2 separate regions of the Homo sapiens genome follow, and region 2 is linked to region 1. Evidence: promoter capture Hi-C in human tissues and cell types (Jung and others, 2019). All regions are on one chromosome and are shown on one strand. The core of a region is centred on a gene start or on the middle of the fragment in contact, and the rest is flanking DNA. Distances in the headings are between cores, read along the strand shown. Region 1 holds the start of BID (BH3 interacting domain death agonist). Region 2 overlaps PEX26 (peroxisomal biogenesis factor 26).

Evidence for each region. The method cuts DNA at HindIII sites, captures the fragments that hold promoters and counts their contacts. A contact is called where the count stands out against the background at its distance.
Region 2: a fragment that was not itself captured here is called in contact with the fragment with the promoter of BID in region 1 in 2 of the 25 tissues and cell types used here (IMR-90 fibroblasts and dorsolateral prefrontal cortex).

What each region holds. Positions count from the first base shown.
Region 1 is chr22:17,772,938-17,775,806 of GRCh38, forward strand. It overlaps BID (BH3 interacting domain death agonist), which reads right to left and starts at 1,532. Exons shown (of 6, transcript NM_001196.4): 1 at 1,444-1,532. RefSeq lists silencers at 1,041-1,370, 1,401-1,470, 1,491-1,540, 1,561-1,660. The HindIII fragment of the contact is 15,001 bases long and covers 1-2,869 here.
Region 2 is chr22:18,095,048-18,098,003 of GRCh38, forward strand. PEX26 (peroxisomal biogenesis factor 26) reads left to right here. Exons shown (of 5, transcript NM_001127649.3): 5 at 1-2,956. Among named protein-coding and RNA genes, the nearest start is that of TUBA8, 14 kb to the right of the region's middle. The HindIII fragment of the contact is 8,441 bases long and covers 1-2,956 here.

The DNA.
Region 1 (2,869 bases), core at 282-2,781:
CCAACCTCCTCAGAAGCACTAACAGCACCTCGCCCCAGCCACGGCAGGTCTCTGCACCCCTCGTCTCAGTCACCACTCTCACATCTCATGAACAGAGACACGAGCTGCTTCCTCATGCTCCCTGTGCCCGTCCTGGGAGATCCCTGCCTTTAAACCCCAGCCACGAACTGCTGACCCCGCATTTCCTCTTCCCTCCCTGGGCAAGAGGGGCAGAAGGGGCAGGGACGCACACCCTGGGCCGCAGGCAGAGGCTTGGCCAGGGTCGTCCTCCCGGCAGTGCCTCCCTGGAGCTCTGTCTACCTCAACTCCTGATGCCAGAGGATCCCTCTGCGCTCCCCACACCCTTAAGACCCCAGCTCAGGGAATCTGGTCTCGGTCATCACTCCCAGGGGACTGCAGGGCCCCAGGACGGCACACATTCAGGCCCAGGAGAGCTCCCCCCATCTCAAAGCCTCCTGTGGGTGGAGATGGAATGTGGAAAAACCGCATCCTCTGCAGCTCCCCCACAGTGAGAGCGAGGACTGAGGGTGTGGATAAGGCTCCAGGAAGGGGGTGCAAGCCTGAGAAGGTGGAAGAGCTCTGGGTGGGTCCATCTGCTCCTCACCTGCCCCAACCCTGCCTGCAGGTGAAGGCCGGTCCAGCCGCAGAAGGCCCAGCCCCCAGCCCACTTACAGAATCCGCACTGTGCTCCTCCAGCCGGCCCGGCCCCTCGCTGCCCACCGAGCCATCATGACCCCAGCACCGCTGCACATTCGTATTTGTTGAATGAATGAATGAACCCTTGCCAGCCCAGCCACTTGGTGGCTGAGGGCTTCAGAGCTCTCCCAGGGTCCCCTGGGGTCATTCAGCCACTCAACAGTTTCCCAGCAGCAGCAGCGAGGATCCGCACATCATTGCCAGTGCTCTAAGGAGCGGGCGAGCCCCAGTAAGCGGCCGCTCTGACCGCGCTTTGTCAGCCCTGAGCTCCGCTCGGGAGGAGCCGGCAGGTGTCTGCGGTGCTGGAAAGACCACGGTGTGGGCGGGGATTCCGATCCGCCGGCAAGGGTGGCCTGCACCCGGCCAGGCCCGCGGGTTTTCTCCTCTCCGGGGCTGGCCTCGGCCCCTCCCCCTCCCCGCGCCCCGCACCCCTCCCCTGAATCCCCAGGCCACGTGGAGAGGACACAACAAAGCCTTCCCCGCCTCCGAGGCGGACCCGACCCTCAGCACCGACCTGCCGGCCGCGCCGAGGAGGGCGCCCGGGCGGAGGGGAGGCGGGAGAGACCCGGCCCTCAGGTCGCTGCTGAGGCCTGGGGCTCTGACCCCCCGCCTCCCCTCCTCTGGCTCCCACCGCGGTCGGGCCCAGGGCGGGCGGCGGGCCCTGAGCTCCACGCCGGGGCAGGCGGCAGGCAGGGGTCACGGGCTGGGGCTCGGCGCGTACCCCGGGAGGGGCGCGGGTGCACTCACCACCCTCCAGCCGCGGGGGCGCGGGCGCGTCCGGGCCGAGGCAGCGTCTCCCAGGCGCGCGGACACGGTCGACTACCCGCTTCCTCCTTATGGCGCCCCGCGCGCTTCCTCCTTCGGCCCCCCACGCCCGGGCCCGCCCCGGCCCGCCCCGGCCCGCCCCCGGCGGCTTGCGGGGACCCGGGGAGCCCGCGCCGGCGCGGGGCTGTGGAGCGGGGCGGGGAGCCGGCAGCGCAGTGAGAACCAGGCTTTCCACCCTTACCCCTTACGCGACTGTTTCAGACAGTGTCGTCCAACTTTAAGTTGGCCACTTACTCCAGCGCCGCTGGGATAATTCCTAATGATTCTCTGGGAAACATTCAGAATCCCCAGGCTGTTTCTGGAACAGTCTGGGGTGGTCATTCTAGGTCCTCACGGAACCAGGGGTTTGGAAAGTGGGTGAAGCCATGTGGGTTGCAGAGAATCTGGCCCAGCCCCTCACCAGTCCCTGTGCTTGTTGTTTATTCTTTAATTATTTGGATATCAACTCTGATTTAAAACATCAGTTTAACATATAGATAATGCTGGGACTACAGGCGCACACCACACCCAACTAATTTCTTTTTCAGTTTTTAGTGGAGGTGGTGGGGGGGGGGTCTCCACCTCTGGAGGTCTCAGGCTGGTCTCGAACTCCTGGGCTCCAGCGATGCTTCCCACCTCGGCCTCCCAAGGTGCTGGAATGACAGGCCAGTCCATGCATCCCCGGATGCAGCTCTCACCGGCAGTGCTGCTGCAGAGCCCTTTGTGGGCGTCTTCACTTCTCTTGAGTGTGATACCTAGGAGTGGAAATGCGAATCATAGGGCTGGACGAGCTTCATGGTATTAAAAACTGCCTGCTTTCCAAGGTGATGCACACCGTTCGGCACTTCCACCAGCCCTGTTGGAGCGTCCAGTTGCTCTGCGCCCTCGCGTGGGCTCACTCCCTGAGCCCACTGTGGCTCCTCCAGACGCCCTCACTTCTACCCGGGCTCCCTAGACTCTTGCCTCTTTTATAAAAGGTCAGAGGATGTCACTCACGCTTTAACATCCTCTGAATAAAAGCCAAGTTCCTTTCAGTGGCCCGCAGAGTCCCACGCGACCTGCCCTGCTCTAAGCAAATCCTACCCTGTCCCTGTTCCTCCTCGGCAGCCCCATGGCCTCTGGCTTTCACCAGGCCTCACTTCATTTTCCTCCACAGCCAGCATCGCAGCATGACATACCACGGAGTCGTTTGTGTGTGTGTTGCCTACCTCCCCTCTCGGAATGTAGCCTCCACGAGGACAGGGGCTTGTTTCCTGCATGCTCTTCACTCGGGCTGGGCACTCTGGGGGGCTAACAAATGGAAGATCCTGTGAGCAGGGAAACCGTCAGATGGCATTAGGGGCCGGTGCCCTGCAGAAGACGAAAGGGA
Region 2 (2,956 bases), core at 243-2,742, 320 kb after region 1:
CATGTAAGAGGCCAAGTAATAAAGATTTGTTGAATGAACTTGGATTTTGGCCTTAGGAATTAGGGAAGGAAGAAATAGAAGCAGCAAGAGTTGGTGAGCAATAAGACCCGCACCAGGGCTGAAGGGTGGAGGTGGGGCAGGGGAGGGCTCTGTGCTTTGGCATCTGTTTAGTAGTATCGTCGCCCAGCTCCCTCCAGAGAAAGAGCAGGAGGTGTTCTTCTCAGATGTACCAGCAATGACAAAGCCTGGCGGGTGTCCTCCTGGGTAGGTATAAATACAAGCTGGTAGTTTCATTGGATGACTCACACAGATAAGCCATGCTCTTGGTTACCAGTGGACTTAGCTGGGTCTCAAAGAATGGGCTGCTTTCTCTGGAAAGCTGGGGAGCTGGTAAAATTTTTTGGTCGCCCCACCAGAGACATCCTACCCATTCCCAGTCCCTCTGTGGGCTCTGACATCTCTGTCCGGCGGGCACCCCCTGCTCTGGAACATTCTGGGAATGCTTCCCACTCCCCTTTTAGTACTTGTTTGTGTTCTGTCCTGTTCCTGGATTTCATGGTCTCCATGGTGACAAGTGCTTGTTTTCAGAGGTGCTAAAGACAATGGCTAAAAGATGTGCTCTATTAATCCTCCCAGGAAACATATTTTGCAAAAGCCTTTTTTTTTTTTTTTTTGAGAAACAAGGCCTAACCCCAATGGAGTAATTTGCTGCGTAAATGAGAGACATCATGGGATTGTGGTTAAGAGTGTGGGTCCCAGACCCATAATGCCCAAGTTTGTATCTTTTTTTTTTGAGACAGAGTCTCACTCTGTCGTCCAAGCTGGAGGGCAGTGGCATGATCTCGACACACTGCAACATCCACTTCCTAGGTTCAAGCGATTCTCTTGCCTCAGCCTTCCGAGTAGCTGGAACTACAGGCACACACTACCACGCCTGGCTAATTTTTGAATTTTTAGTAGAGACGGGGTTTTACCATGTTGGCCAGGCTGGTCTTGAACTCTTGACCTCAAGTGATCTGCATGCCTCACCTCCCAAAGTGTTGGGAATACAGGCATGAGCCACCACACCCGGCCTGAGTTTGTATCTTGACTCACCTGCTTTGACCTTCAAATAATCTTTCCTGTGCCTCAGTTACTTCATAGGTTTGTTGTGAGGATTAACTGGTGCTAATCCATGTAAAACACTGAAAAGGTGCATAGCATGTAGTGAGCAGGTGCTAGTTATTATTACTGTTGCTCTTAATTAAGTGAGGTAAGGAGGGGAGAGTTGGAGTGGTAGAACCCAGCATCTTGTGAACATCAGACCACAGAAAAGGCAGCACTTCTGATTCCTGTTCTTAGCCTAGGAACTAGGCTTTGCAAATGGCTCTGAATTTTTTTTTTTTTTTTGAGATGGAGTCTCGCTCTGTCGCCCAGGCTGGAGTGCAGTGGCACGATCTCAGCTCACTGCAAGCTCTGCCTCCCAGGTTCATGCCATTCTTCTGCCTCAGCCTCCCGAATAGCTGGGACTACAGGCGCCCGCCACCACACCCGGCTAATTTTTTGTATTTTTAGTAGAGATGGGGTTTCACCGTGTTAGCCAGGATGGTCTCGATCTCCTGACCTTGTGATCTGCCCACCTCGGCCTCCCAAAGTGCTGGGATTACAGGCGTGAGCCACCACGCCCGGCCGGCTCTGATTTCTTAAAGTGCTAAGCCTTTTTATATATTCATTTCAGACCATGTTTAATTTTCTAAATATGCAATACATTCATAGGGTTTTTGAAAAGGCTTGAAAAAGTCTAGTGTGAAAGCAGTCTGTATTAGTCCATTTTCACACTGCTTTAGAGAAGTATCAGAGACTGGGTAATTGTTGAAGAAAAGAGGTTTAACTGACTCACAGTTCTGCATGGCTGTGAGGCCTCAGGAAACAAGCAGTCATAGTGGAAGGCAAAGGGGAAGCAAGGCACATCTTACATGGCAGCAGCAGAGAGAATGAGGGGGGATGCCACACTTTAAAACCATCAGAACTCGTGAGAACTGACTCACTATCACAAGAACAACAGGGGAGAAACTGTTCCTGTGATCCAGTCACCTCCCACCAGGTCCCTCCTCCGACGTGGGGATTACAGTTTGAGATGAGATTTGAGTGGGGACACAGAGCCAAACCATATCACCTCCCATCTCTTCATTTAGCAAGTTCACCTACCCCAATGGCAGCTATGGCCGTTAGTTTTTTTTTTTTTTCTTTTTTTTGAGACAGAGCCTCACTCTGTCGCCCAGGCTGGAGTGCAGGGGTGTGATCTCGGCTCACTGCAAGCTCCGCCTTCCGGGTTCACGCCATTCTCCTGCCTCAGCCTCCCAAGTGGCTGGGACTACAGGCTCCTGCCACCGCGCCCGGCTAATTTTTTGTATTTTTAGTAGAGACGGGGTCTCACCGTGTTAGCCAGGATGGTCTTGATCTCCTGACCTCGTGATCCACTTGCCTCGGTCTCCCAAAGTGCTGGGATTACAGGCATGAGCCACCGTGCCTGGCCACAGCCATTAGTTTTAAATTTACTCTTCCAGAGGTAAATTTAATACACCAATACAAAACCAGTATGGATATAGATCCTAGTTTCTTCTCCTTTTTATAAAAAAAACCTGTAGTATATTATGTACTCTGTTTTATTCCTTCCTTTTTTTTTCTTATAAAAAATACAGAGATGGGGTCTTACTACACTGACCAGGCTGGTGTTGAACTTGCCTCAAGTGATCCTCCCATCTTGACCTCCCAAAGTGCTGGGATTATAGGCATAAGCCACCACACCCAGATGATTTTTTTATTTTTCAAAGAAGTGGCATGATTTTGATGACAATAAAGGACAATATGTAATTAATGGTAATTATAATACAGCCTTCTAGAGGCCAGGTGCAGTGGCCCATGCCCGTAATCCCACCACTTTGGGTGGCCAAGGCAGGTGGATCATGAGGCCAGG